Linked DNA regions of Homo sapiens: all the other regions are linked to region 2. The links are contacts of gene promoters, found by promoter capture Hi-C in blood cells and fetal thymus (Javierre and others, 2016). All regions are on one chromosome and are shown on one strand. The core of a region is centred on a gene start or on the middle of the fragment in contact, and the rest is flanking DNA. Distances in the headings are between cores, read along the strand shown.

The links. The method cuts DNA at HindIII sites, captures the fragments that hold promoters and counts their contacts. A CHiCAGO score of 5 or more calls a contact.
Region 1: a fragment that was not itself captured here is called in contact with the fragment with the promoter of CMTM6 in region 2 in 1 of 17 cell types (megakaryocytes); the score reaches 5.1 in megakaryocytes.
Region 3: a contact is called between a fragment that was not itself captured here and the fragment with the promoter of CMTM6 in region 2, in 3 of 17 cell types (megakaryocytes, erythroblasts and M1 macrophages). The highest score is 7.6, in megakaryocytes.
Region 4: a contact is called between a fragment that was not itself captured here and the fragment with the promoter of CMTM6 in region 2, in 3 of 17 cell types (total B cells, total CD8 T cells and naive CD4 T cells). The highest score is 5.7, in total B cells.
Region 5: a fragment that was not itself captured here is called in contact with the fragment with the promoter of CMTM6 in region 2 in 7 of 17 cell types (megakaryocytes, erythroblasts, monocytes and 4 more); the score reaches 7.7 in megakaryocytes.

What each region holds. Positions count from the first base shown.
Region 1 is chr3:32,643,539-32,646,238 of GRCh38, reverse strand. No RefSeq gene overlaps it. Among named protein-coding and RNA genes, the nearest start is that of CNOT10, 40 kb to the left of the region's middle. The HindIII fragment of the contact is 4,319 bases long and covers 1-2,700 here.
Region 2 is chr3:32,501,495-32,504,194 of GRCh38, reverse strand. CMTM6 (CKLF like MARVEL transmembrane domain containing 6) reads left to right here and starts at 1,343. Exons shown (of 4, transcript NM_017801.3): 1 at 1,343-1,587. The coding sequence starts at 1,450. RefSeq lists silencers at 1,243-1,332, 1,403-1,632. The HindIII fragment of the contact is 6,143 bases long and covers 1-2,700 here.
Region 3 is chr3:32,711,808-32,714,507 of GRCh38, reverse strand. CNOT10 (CCR4-NOT transcription complex subunit 10) reads right to left here. Exons shown (of 19, transcript NM_015442.3): 5 at 1,139-1,281. Among named protein-coding and RNA genes, the nearest start is that of CNOT10-AS1, 24 kb to the left of the region's middle. The HindIII fragment of the contact is 158 bases long and covers 1,212-1,369 here.
Region 4 is chr3:32,369,666-32,372,365 of GRCh38, reverse strand. It overlaps CMTM8 (CKLF like MARVEL transmembrane domain containing 8), which reads right to left. Exons shown (of 4, transcript NM_178868.5): 4 at 2,045-2,482. The coding sequence ends at 2,399. LOC124909361 (a long non-coding RNA gene) reads right to left here and starts at 1,008. Exons shown (of 2, transcript XR_007095859.1): 1 at 1-1,008. The HindIII fragment of the contact is 3,277 bases long and covers 1-2,700 here.
Region 5 is chr3:32,695,449-32,698,148 of GRCh38, reverse strand. All of the region lies in intron 1 of CNOT10 (CCR4-NOT transcription complex subunit 10), which reads right to left. Among named protein-coding and RNA genes, the nearest start is that of CNOT10, 12 kb to the right of the region's middle. The HindIII fragment of the contact is 2,064 bases long and covers 357-2,420 here.

The DNA.
Region 1 (2,700 bases), core at 86-2,585, 140 kb before region 2:
TGATCAAGAAAAGCATCTTAATAAGGGCAATTTTTTTTTATTATACTTTAAGTTTTAGGGTACATGTGCACAACATGCAGGTTTGTTACATATGTATACATGTGCCATGTTAGTGTGCTGCACCCATTAACTCGTCATTTACATTAGGTATATCTCCTAATGCTATCCCCCTCCCCTCCCCCCATCCCACAACAGGCCCCAGAGTGTGATGTTCCCCTTCCTGTGTCCATGTGTTCTCATTGTTCAATTCCCACCTATGAGTGAGAACATGCGGTGTTTGGCTTTTGTCCTTGCGATAGTTTGCTGAGAATGATGGTTTCCAGCTTCATCCATGTCCCTACAAAGGACATGAACTCATCATTTTTTATGGCTGCATATATTCCATGGTGTATATGTGCCACATTTTCTTAATCCAGTCTATCATTGTTGGACATTTGCCTTGGTTCCAAGTCTTTGCTATTGTGAATAGTGTTGCAATAAACATACGTGTGCATGTGTCTTTATAGCAGCATGATTTATAATCCTTTGGGTATATACCCAGTAATGGGATTGCTGGGTCAAATGGTATTTCTAGTTCTAGATAATAAGGGCAAGTTTTGTTATGACTTTTTCTTTTCTTTTTAAGACAGGCTCTCACTCTGTTGCCCATGCTGGAGTGAAGTGGCTCTATTTCAGCTCACTGCAGCCTTTACCTCCTAGGCTCAGGTGATCCTCCCGCCTCAGCCATCCAACTATCTGGGACTACAAGCATGCACCACCATGCCCAGCTAATTTTTGCAGAAATGGGGTTTTGCCATGTTGCCCAGGCAGGTAGCAAATTCCTGGGCTCAAGCCATTTGCCCATCTCAGCCTCCCAAAGTGCTGGGATAACAGACGTGAGCCACCACATCCTGCCTGTTAGGACATTTTAAGGCAATTATTTCTCCATCGATAAGAGTCTCTAGTGATTTAGTTATCCTTCTCTTTCTGGTGCAGAGAGAAAGACACCTTTAAAAATGGAGATTTCCTTCATAAATGTCAGTTTGTCTTACAAAAGGGTAACTTTTCTGAGCTTCTCCTGTGTCTGCAGTTTCTCAAAAATAATCCTTATGCCAAAGGGGCACATCCGGGATAGCATATTCTGGTCTTCTACCATCATATTTTAGGGTGGCATGTCCTAGGCCCCATCAATAGTATTTTCTATGTGTTGCACTGTGGGGAATTTAACAAAGGCAATGGGTTCTGGCATTGTTAACCCCTCAATAACTAGATGCATACCAGTTTTTCTTCCTACCCAAAGAGGACAGCTGGAGTTGATCACATATGTGGACAACACGGAACGGGATTTTTACCAAGGGCTTACTTACTCAGTGCCAGGCACTGTTCTAAATACTTAACATACATTAATTCATTGAATTTTTTTTTTCTAGCAGACAGGTGTCTCCCCATCCGGAATGCAGTGGCATGATCATAGTTCACTGCAGCCTCTAACTCCTGGGCTCAAGCAATCCTCCTGCCTCAGCCTCCAGAGTCACTAGGATTACAGGTGTAAGCCACCCTGTCCAGCTTAACTCATTGAATCTTAACCATAAGCCTATGACATTTAATTTAATATAATTTAATTATATTTAAATTTAATATAACATAGGTTATATATAACCTATGTTATAATATAATTTAATATAATATAGGTTATATTATATTTAATATAATTTAATATTATATTATATTAAATATAATATAATTTAACTTAATATTATATTAATATAATATAATTTAATATTATATTATATTAATATAATATAATTTAATATTATATTATATTAATATAATTTAATTTAATTTAATATAACATAGGTTATATTAAATTTCTGTTTTACAGATAAGAAATCTCAGGCACAGAGAGGACACGGTAAGAGGTGGAGCCAATTCAAACTCAGGCAAGTTTATACTTTTAATAAATAGGCTGCCTTTTAACATCTAGAAATATATGGGTGCAGCACACCAACATGACACATGTATACATATGTAACAAACCTGCACGTTGTGCACATGTACCCTAGAACTTGAAGTATAATAATAATAATAAAACATCTAGAAAACAGGAGTAGAACCTAAGAAGAGTCAGATCCTCCTAGCTGGTCATTAGGCACTTATGTCTTGACTTACGGAAGCAGAGTGTTGGCATCCTGGGAAGTCACTGACCTCTTTATAGAGCTCGTCCAAGCTAGAGCCTCTGTGCAGACAGAACACATTGCTGCCCTCTACGTGAAGACCTGTATACACTGGGGCAGGAGCAGAGGAGCCCATGGTGCTAAAAAATAGAAGAAAATGGTAAGTAAAAGTTTTAAAAATCAACAGCTCTGAGTGGATTCTCATAGATGAAAACAAGCTCATCCTAATTTGTTAAATTTGGCGACCTGAGGCACTTGCTGCTCAGCTCCTCCACATTGTGTTCCCGCCTTTTGACCATCTCTTCCAGTAGTTGCTGCAGAAACTGGCTGTGAACAAGTGTAAACTAACAATATCTTGCCTCAGCTGCCCTGTGTATCTCTTGCTTTCTGCCCCTGGGGCTTCCGAAAGCCATGCTGCTGAATGGGATGGCTGCAAGAATCTGTTCAGCCATGCGGTTGCATTGGCGAACCTGGAAGTTCGAGAGTTAACACCTTATGGTGTAACTGTTGACCAAGGGGAGATAGGAGCTGATAGATAAATAATCCC
Region 2 (2,700 bases), core at 94-2,593:
TCTGGCTGGTTGTAGGTGGCCCCTGCAGGGCAGTATCTACTTGTCTCTATTCATTTGAATGGGAGCTTTTGTTTGTTACTGGAAGAAGAAAGGGAGGTTTGGGGCCACGGAGAAGATGTAGCAGCTGATGGCAGCAGAAACCCCTTCTCTCTTCCATGGGTTTTGAGACTCCAATGGAGAGATGAGTTAGAAGCTGACGTTTTCTGGGTTAGCGTTTAGCAGCAAGGTTTCGAGTCAGACTGCTTAGGCCTGCATTCCAGCTGCTCCTGGCTGTTTGACCTTGGATATGATTTCAGCCTCTTGGCCTCAGTTTTCTCATTTGAAAATGAATGTAACCGACTTTATACTGTCGAACCTACTTTATATTGTTGTGAACATCCTGTAACTCAATCAACTTCAGTTGCTAAAATATAATTACATTCCTTGACAAGTTCACACAAAATTAACATATGTGACTGTAGCAGTTGGTGACCAAGAAAGAGAAAAAGGAAATGATTTTGAAAAGTGAGCCTAAATGGAATTTCGGGAGACGCGGGAGGGAGCGATTCTGAAAGTCCTTACAGACAACTCATTGTACTTCAAATGAAATACGAATTCTTCCCTTGGTCTGCAAGGCCTCCACATTATCTGGCCTTTGCCTACATCTCCAACATCTCCTTTCCTCCCGTACTTATTCCTAGCGACACAGGCCTTTGGGCTTCAGATTGAGTCAAACTCATTTGGTCCTCGGGACATTTGCACTTTCGTGAAAGGCTCTCCCCAGAACTTTACAAGCCTGGCTTCTCACACTTTGAGTCTCATTCAATTCAAAGATCATGGTCCTCAGAGAGGCCTTTCCTGACCACTCAGTTTAGTAGTGGCCATTTAAGTAGAGCACCCAATTCTCCATCCTTTTTTCCTTCTCCTTCCTCTTCTCCTCCTCCTCCATCTTCTTTTTTTTTTTAATAAATTTATCAAGCCACCAGAAATGCTGAATCCATTATTTTCGTATCATATTTTCACGTCACTTATCACTATCTGAAATTGCTATCCATCTGTTTTCTTGTTTATTGTCTGTCTCTGTTACTAGGGATCCTGTGATTTTGGGTAGTACTTGGCTGTCACCCAAGTACCTAGAACGGGGTTCACTGCACACCGAAAGTACGCAAAAATACTAAGTGAATGAATGTCAGGAGGATGAAAGATGGAGGGAGGTGAGAAATCCATCAAAGGCTCACAGAAAGAACTCAATTCTTGGATGAAAGTCGGAAGAATCCCAACAGCTAACAAGCAAATTTGCTGAGAGGGGGCGGGGCGGGCCAAGGGCGGGGGCGGGAAGGGGCGGAGTCAGGCGGAAGCCGGGGAGAAGGCCCAGGAAGTGACGGCCGCCTCCCGGCTACCGGGGACTTCTGGAGTCCGAGAAGTCAACGGCGCGGTTGCTGCGGCCGCCGCGCTCCCCGGCCCGAGGCGATGGAGAACGGAGCGGTGTACAGCCCCACTACGGAGGAGGACCCGGGCCCCGCCAGAGGCCCCCGGAGCGGCCTCGCTGCCTACTTTTTCATGGGCCGGCTCCCATTGCTCCGGCGCGTTCTCAAGGGCTTGCAGCTGGTGAGTCCGCGGTCAGGGAGGGCGAGCCCGGGCTGGGGAGCGGGGTCTGGCCCGGGCTTGGGAGGCCGCCGAGCTCCTTCGTTTCAGCTTGGTTGTTCAGTAAAAGGAGGTTTCCACACCTCTAGTTCCTTCCCTCTCAGCCTGGGGAAGGGGGCGTTACCCTCCGCCCTTCCGCCGGGCGGCCCCTCAGTCCCAAGGCTCTCCCCATCGGGATCCCACGAACTGGGGCCACCCAGCCTGTTAGGCGGGCTCAGGAAATGCGTCGGAGACCCAAGTCAGCCACTTCAACATCTTTCACTCATCCTCTATGGCGACTTTCCTCTCTTCTCTCTGCTGCTACCCTGCATTATCGCCCACAGTGCCTGTATTTAGACTGTGAAGCGCTGTTTATCTTTCTCTGGCTCTTGCGGTTTTCCTGCTGCGAGCCCATGGGGGCAGTTTAACTTGCTGGACAAAGTCCTGCGATACCACGCGTGGCATTGAGATGTGTGTGTATGTGTGTCCGGTAAATTGTCTTCTAAAAGTTTTATATTGACTGGAAAAGAATTATTTCAAAATTGAGCAATATGGGTTCTAAGTGGAAAGTCAAAAGGACAGCTTTTTGTAAGTATGTGCGGATAGCTGAACTAGGACATGGTATGCATCTTTCCATTTTATTGAGTTTATTTTAAGCAGTTGAAGTACCATAAACCTGTTCGTGAAAACATCAAAGCATCTTTGAGATTTAAATTATTCACTTTACAGTCGTGTTGGCTCCTATGTACTGTTCCAACCACTGATGGTTGAACCAGTTTAGGAAAAATAGAAACAGTTTAGGTTCTATTTCTGCAATAGAACCAGTTTAGGAAAAATCCGAATGCTTATGATGTTTATGAGTTTTGTCTTACTTTGTTTTGTTTTTTAACCATTCTAAGTAAAAATTAGCTCATTGGTTTCCTTGGAAAGAACTTAAATTCTTACAACTCAAATGACCCGAAGTTAAATTCTTAGAACTCTAGTGACCTACTTTTATTGAATAGAAAAACAGAAGTCGGAAAATCGGCACTGCTGTTTAGCGATCAAAATGATCACATCTGCTGATGACTGGGAAATCATTTGAAAGCAAGTGATAAT
Region 3 (2,700 bases), core at 41-2,540, 210 kb before region 2:
CTAACTCCTGACCTCAGGTGATCCACCCGCCTTGGACTCTCAAAGTGCTGGGATTACAGGTGTGAGCTACCACGCCCAGCCATGTATTTTTTTTTTTTTTTTGAAGAACTTTAATGATGAAATTTTCCCTAATGAAAGCAATAGTGTTTATCCAGGTTATGGATTCTATTGTCTTAATTCCAATCTTTCAATTCTATAAAAATAATAGCTCATATATGAAAAGATGCTCAATGTACATCCTTAGTCATTAGGAAAATAAAAATCAAAACTGTAACAAGATACCACTTCACACCCCCTAAGATAGCTAATTTTTTTTTAAAGATAGACAATAACAAGTGTTGGTAACAATGTGGAGAAATTACAACCTCACAAGTGGCCGGTGGGAATTTAAAATAGTGCAGCCACTTTGTAAAACAGTCTTGTATAGGGTTAAATATAGAGTTAAGATACCATATAACCCAGTGATTCTATTCCTAAATATTATATCCAATGTAACTGAAAACATATATCCACACAAAAATTTGTACATGAATGGTCACAGAAGCACTATATATAATAACCAAAAAGTAGAAAAGAACCCAAATGTCCACCAACTGATAAAGAATTTTTTAAAATGTGGCATATTCATATAATGAATGGAATATTATTCAGCCACAAAAGGCATGAAGTACATGAAACAAAAATAAGTATATGCTAAAATATGGATGAAGCTTGAAAGCATTACACTAAGTAAAAAAAGCCAGTGACAAATAGCCGCATATTATGATTCCATTCATATGTAATGTCCAGACAGTAAATTCAGAGACAGTAATTAGATTAACGGCTGCTTGGGGCTGAGGAAAGGGGGAAATGGGGAGTGACTGCAAATGGTACAGGGTTTCTTTTTGGGGTGATAAAAATATTTTGAAATTAGATAGTAGTAATGGTTGTACAAATGTGAGTACACTCAAAACCACTAAACTCTACACTTTAAAATGGTAAAGCTTATAATATGAAAATTGTATCTTTAAGCTGTTAATAGTTCATAACCACAAACATTAATCATATTTTAATTGCTTTCTTTTTAATCCAGTAAACCAACAAGTAGAGAGAATTAATCACATTTTAGATTTTAGTCTGATCACCTCTAAAGACTCACCTCATTCTTTCCATTTTTGTTATTGTTACCCTGTGAAATCATTTTTTCTAGGACAGCAAGAAGATGCAAAGCTTTCTCAGCTTGGTAGGTTAATATATACAGGTCTACAAGCAAAAAACACACTGCTTGGGCAAATTTTTCTTCTGGGAGAAAAAAAACACAGAAAAGAATAGTCACAACCTAAAGTAAAGCACACATTTCAGACCACCCTCCAAAAAAGTATACAAAGCTTTAAATAGCAAAGCATAAGTCTTTACTCAAATGAATGCCTATCACCTAGAGCCACGAATGAAAGCAACTTGCAATGCCAACAATGTCATTTTACTAGGCACTGCAAGGCCTCTCATTTCAGAAATTCCAGTGATTAAATCTTCCTTAGGAAAATATCTACTAAACACTAGCACATGTAATGAGGAATATTACTTTAGGCGGAAAGAAACCTGAATTCCAATAGAGGTTGTGCATTCCTAACCTGAAATGTTGAAATCTGAAATTTGTAATCCTCCAAAATCCAAAACTTTTTTTGTTTCTGAGATGGTATCTCACTGTGTTACCCAGGCTGGAGTGCAGTGTTGCAATCTTGGCTTACTGCAACCTCTGCCTACTAGGCTCAAGAGATCCTTTCACCTTAGCCTCCTGAGTAGCTGGGACCACAAACATGTGTCACCATGCCTGGCTAATTTTTTCATAGAAACAGGGTTTCACTATGTTGCCCAGGCTGGTCTCAAGCTCCTGAGCTCAAGTGATCCACCCACTTTGGCCTCACAAAGGATAGGATTACAGGTGTGAGCCACTGTGTCCAGCCTCAAAATCCAAAACTTGTTGAGCACCAATGATGCTCAAATAAAATGCTCATGGTAGCATTTTGGACCTCAGGGTAGGAATACTGAACCAGTAAGTATAATGCAAATATTCCAAAGTTAAAAAAAATCCCAAATCTGAAACACTTCTTGTCCCAAGCATTTTGGATAAGGGATACTCAATCTGCACCTATTCAGCCACTAACTAGGTATGTGTGGTCTCTGTACATCATTTAACTTTTCAGACCTCAGCTGGCTGACCTGTCAAATGAGGAGAATATTTTACCTGCCTGAAGGCAGAAGGGTGGACCAGGGGATCTTGTGAGGTTCCTTCTAACTAAAAAAGTCTATGACTCCATGAAATACATTGCTTTTCTAGGTCATGGAGATGGAAAAAAAAAAAAAACAAACAAACACCTGATTACAGAAGCAAAAGCAGCAAGGTATGGGCTGGAGTATATCAGAAAATTGAGACTGCCAAGAGACAAGACCTTCAAAAGAAAAAGAACCCAATGAAGAGAGGAAAGTTAACCTGGTGTGACATAAAACTATCTTTCCTTTCAAAAAAGAAGATAAAAGGAAAAATAAGGTCTAGAAGAGAAAATTTCAAAAGCCTTTAAAGAGTGGAATTCATTTAAAAAACTGAAATTAACACAGCTGGTGTGCAAAGGTCATATATCTCCAAGGGAATCTCACTGCACCTAAGACAGTAAGCCCTGCCCTAGGCTTTACCTCTTCTGCCCGTGGCTAATTCTGACTTTA
Region 4 (2,700 bases), core at 110-2,609, 130 kb after region 2:
TTTTCACCCCAGAAGTTACGTTCTATAAATGTGGCCGTGATTATAGAAATGACACACACATGCTTGCGTGGAGCATAAAAGCAGGCTTCTTTCTGTTTCCAGAAGCAGGCCTCTGTAGGTTACTGTTTTTTCTGACTTTTATGGAGTGTTGTTTGCAACATAAAGTACTTGAAAAACCCACAGGGTATGTGGAAGGTGCACATGCTTTGGTGAGTGTGAGAGGGAGAGCTGGACGGAAGGGCAGAGCATGCCAACTGTGACTAGTTATTTCAGCTTTTCTGCAAAATCAGTGATGACTGGGAATCAGCTCCCCAAAGATCACATCACCAGTTGCCTACAGGTCTGTGTTATGGAAGTTCAGCCTTCCATGGCTTGCTACATTTTGGGCACAGAGTGGCCTTGTGTGCCCCCCGACACCACCTGCTCACACATCCATACCCTACACTCACCTCTCATTTTTGGAGCTTCCTTCCCCACTACCTCTTTGGGCGGGCCTAGTCCACAACCCCAGAACATTCTTCATTGGTACTTTCAAAGGTCTGGGGTGGGTATGACTAGACACTGAAGAAATCTCAACTCTCCTATGTAGGGGTAATCAGAGCTTGGATATGGAATTAGAAAAAGAGAACCAGCACAAACAGAAAAAAACAGCACTGCTAAACAGGTGAGAGATCAAGAGGCAGAGGCCATGGGAGTCATATCAACAGAGCGCACAGCTTCAGCTTTGTTCACGCTCATCAACTACACTAACGTTTCTGTGGTTTTTTGTTTTTCAAAAGCTCATATTGAAAAATCATCCAAGATACACTGCTGTACTAGCAAGAATCGTCCTATCTAAAAACACTTCCTCTAAGTTCATACTGTCTTGCTGATGTGAGTTCTTCTCCTTAACTGATAATATCTAATAATGATGTTATAATATTTTTGCACTGGAGATTTGGAATATTGAAACCTTTTGGTCCAGCAGTGTCTTATTATTAGTTTTTTTTTTTTTTTTGAGACAGGGCCCCACTCTGTTGCTCAAGCTGGAGTGCAGTGGCATGATCACGGCTAGCTGCAGCCTCCTCCTCCCAGGTCCAAGGGATCCTCCTATCTCAGCCTTCCAATTAGCTGGGACCACAGGGGTGCACCACCATGCCTGGCTTATTTTTTTGTATTTTTGGTACAGATGGAGTTTTGCCATCTTGTCCAAGCTGATCTCGAACTCCTGGCCTCAAGTGATCTGCCCACCTCAGTCAGGCTCCCAAAGTGCTGGGATTATAGGCATGAGCCACTGTGCCTGGCCTGGCCCAGTAGTTTTCACAAAAGATAGCACACATGTTACTGTGGTCAGCAATTTTTTTTTTTTTTTTTGAGACACAGTCTTGCTCTGTCAGCAGGCTGGAGTGCAGTGGTGTGATCTTGGCTCACTGCAACCTCTGCCTCCTGGGTTCAAGTGATTCTCCTGCCTCAGCCTCCCAAGTAGCTGGGATTACAGGCACCCGCCACCACGCCCAGCTAATTTTTGTATTTGTAGTAGAGACGGGGTTTCACCATGTTGGCCAGGCTGGTCTCGATCTCCTGACCTCGTGATCCACCTGCCTCGGCCTCCCAAAGTGCTGGGATTACAAGGCATGAGCCACGGCGCCCAGCCAGCAAGATAATTTTAAGATATATTCAATATATTCAGATATTTATCCTTTTAATAGTTATATATTTTTTTATAATGCATATTAGAAAAAATATCACAAGCACGTCAGTCACTGCACTTAGTAGCATAACTTCCCATGAGCTTATCACTGATGTCCAAGGCCAGGTCTGAATAGATGCTTTCTGGGGCAACCTGTTAGCATATGAAAATCATGAACACTGATCTATGATCCCCAGAATTGGGGAGATGAATCTCCCGCCTCTTTGCCCTAAGACTATGGATAAGTGTCACCTGACAATATCATACGATGCAGCCCTGTGAAGAGGGAGACTTCCCAGCCTCCCACCAGCCTTGACAGCCTAGCCTCTGGCTTCAACAGGTAGGTCTCCTTTCTCCAATCAAACACAACATTACTTGGGATTTTGCAACATTTAATCAAAAAAGAATCTGGCATCTTAAAAGTTAGGTTTACAAACTTGACACATTCTCAATATTAGCAATTTATCTATTTAAACATTGTCTAAGAAAATATGATCTATGAAGACATTAATACATTAATAAGATACTTAAGAGTTCATTATAAGCTACAACACTTTGCAAATAAGTATCCAGTTTAATTGTAACAAACCACAATTTGTGAGCAAATTTAAGAATATAAAAAACATTAATTAGTTAAATACAATTCTCTGGGAATATACATTATACCTACAGCTGTTTTTACAGTGAGAGTCTTCCTTTTTTTTTCCTTTTAATTATCAAAATGGTAAATCACTGTATGGTCCTGGATCTCCATGCTATAAAACTGAAATATGTATTTCCAGCGTAGCAGATGGTGACCAGGAAGGCAAAGAACTGGAGAAAACAAAGCATAATAGAAGTGGGGTTTAGGGCACATCCTAATTAGCAAAAGTTATCATTTCACCTCCATTGAATCACCCACTCACTACCTTTTCTTGATACCAGGCTTTGCCATCTAAAACTACTTTATTGGTTCAATTACTATCCTTCTCAAATGATTTCTGGTTATGCTGTTTTTATTTCGGAGAACATCTGAAAGCCTGTAGTTTTGC
Region 5 (2,700 bases), core at 139-2,638, 190 kb before region 2:
CAATAACAATGAGTTTCACTGCAAGAACATACTGTTTATCCAATACATGTGTTTTGCAGAACTGTCAGGTGCACAAAAGAGGTAAGGACCAATTATTTTAAAACGTGTAAAAATGTGACACAGGACTTTAGGACCTCAGAAGGCAAGTTATAAGTTTAGATTGAAACAGGATCCTCAATCCACATATTGTCACCATAAAACTTTAACAAAGAATATAAATATCTTTCATGTTTCTTTTATTATTAAAGATTTTATAAAACCTAACATTTTAAAAAATGTGTCTTCTCTCATAAAGAAGCATAATTTAAACCAAATGCCAAAAATTCTTAGTTTGCTATTGAGTTTTCTCTAAAGCTTCTTCTAAAATATGCCCCTTGGCTGGGCAGTGGCTCACACCTGTAATCCCAGCAGTTTGGCAGGCCAAGGAAGGAGGACTGCTTGAGCCTAGGAGTTCCAGACCAGCCTGGGAAACAAAACAAGACCCTGTCTCTATTTTAAAAAATTGTTTTAATTAGCCAGGCATAGTGGCATGTGCCTGTAGTCCCAGCTACTTGGGGAGGTGAGGTGGGATAATCGTTGAAGCCTGGGAGGTTGAGGCTGCAGTGAGCCGTGACCATGCCACTGCACTCCAGCCTGGGTGACAGAGTGAAACCCTGTCTCAAAAATAATAATAATAAAAGATATGAATAAAATAAATAAGTAAAATATGCCCTAGATTAGATGACATTCTTTAATGGGACTTTTGGGACCAACTGTAAGAGCACCTTAGAAATACAGGGCAAAGGGGAAAACCCAACAACTCACCCAGGTGTTGAAAATTTTGAGCTTCTATTCTCCACTAAAAGTAGAGTAGTTCATGTGGCCACTGCTGTTAGCAACCCCAGAAAATGGAAGTATCAGGCTGGACATGGTGGCTCACGCCTATAATCTCAGCACTTTGGGAGGCCAAGGTGGGCAGATCACCTGAGGTCAGCAGTTCCAGACCAGCCTGGCCAACATGGTGAAACCCGTTTCTACTAAAAATACAAAAATTAGCTGGGCGTGGTGGCATATGCCTACAATCTCAGCTACTTGGGAGGCTGTGGCAGGAGAATCACTGGAACCCGGAAGGCAGAGGCTGCAGTGAGCCGAGATCACGCCACTGCACTCCAGTCTGGGTGACAGAGCGAGACTCCATCTCAAAAAAAAAAAAGAAAAGAAAAAGAAAATGTAAGTCTCCTAAAATTCTCCAGAAAAGGAGAGAAGCCAATTTAAGATAAATATATAAGCTGGGCTGGACACACTGGCTCACGCCTGTAATCCCAGCACTTCGGGAGGCTGAGGAGGGTGGATCTTGAGCTCAGGACAACATGGTGAAAACCCATCTCTACCAAAAACACAAAACTTAGCCAGGTGTGGTGGCACATGCCCGTAGTCCTGCTACTTGGGAGGCTGAGGAGGGAGGATCACTTGAACCCAGGAAGTGGAGGCTGCAGTGAGCTGAGATTGTGCCACTGCACTCCAGCTTGGGTGACAGTGAGACCTCATCTCAAAATAAATAAATAATAAATAAATAAATAGATAAGCTGGACTCTAAGGCTGACAAGAGCCTCTGAAATTCCCATTTCTACACACATTTCACAGAACTGAGCTCAATAAATAACCTTTTACATGTTAACGAACCATTATTTTACCTACCTTCTTTAACTTCAGGATGAAAATTTTCTGTTTTTAAAAAAACACACTTCACTACTCAGGAGGCTTAGGTGGGAAGATTGCTTGAGCCCAGTATATGACTACCAGCCTGAGCAATCAGTGAGACCCCATTTCTTCTTCTTCTTCTTTTTTTTTTTTGAGACGGAGTCTCACTCTGTTGCCCAGGCTGGAGTGCAGAGGCACAATCCCAGCTCACCGCAACCTCTGCTTCCCAGGTTCAAGTGATTCTCCTGCCTCAGCCTCCTGAGTAGCTGGGATTATAGGTGCCCGCCACCATGCTCAGCTAATTTTTGTATTTTTAGTAGAGGCAGGGTTTTACCATGTCAGCCAGGTTGGTCTTGAACTCCTGATCTCAAGTGATCCGCCTGCCTCGGCCTCCCAAAGTGCTGGGATTACCAGCATGAGTCACCACGCCCGGCCAAGACCCCATTTCAAATACACACACACACACACACACACACACACACACACACACACACACACACTCTCTTCAACAGGATTATTTTTATTTTCCTTGTGTATTTGTACATTTCTCGAGTTTTCTGCCAGAAATGGGTATTCATTTTTGTAATCAGTTTTTTTAATGTTTTAAAAACATTTATTATTTATAACTACTGACTTCTTACCAGACAGAGTCTGCACATAATCCCACAGCATTTCTTTATTTGCCCAAAAGTAGTCTCCGTTGCCAATTGAAAGAGTATACGACCGTTCACCCATAAGCTTGACTTTCCTTCTACTCTGGCCTAATGAACATGGCTGACCTTCTATGCGTACAGAGCTCTTTGACCCACAAACCTTGACAGTCTTTACACCAATAGACTTCATTTCTAAATAAACAATTGCCTTTAGGTTTGAACTAAGCAGAAAAGAAATGCACCACGTTTTCAAAACTGAAAATCATCAGTTAACTGAAAGCACAGACACATTCCAATACAGAATGTTAATCATTCAAATCTGATTGGTGGAGACTACAAGCTACACTCATCAAAATACAGCTCCACT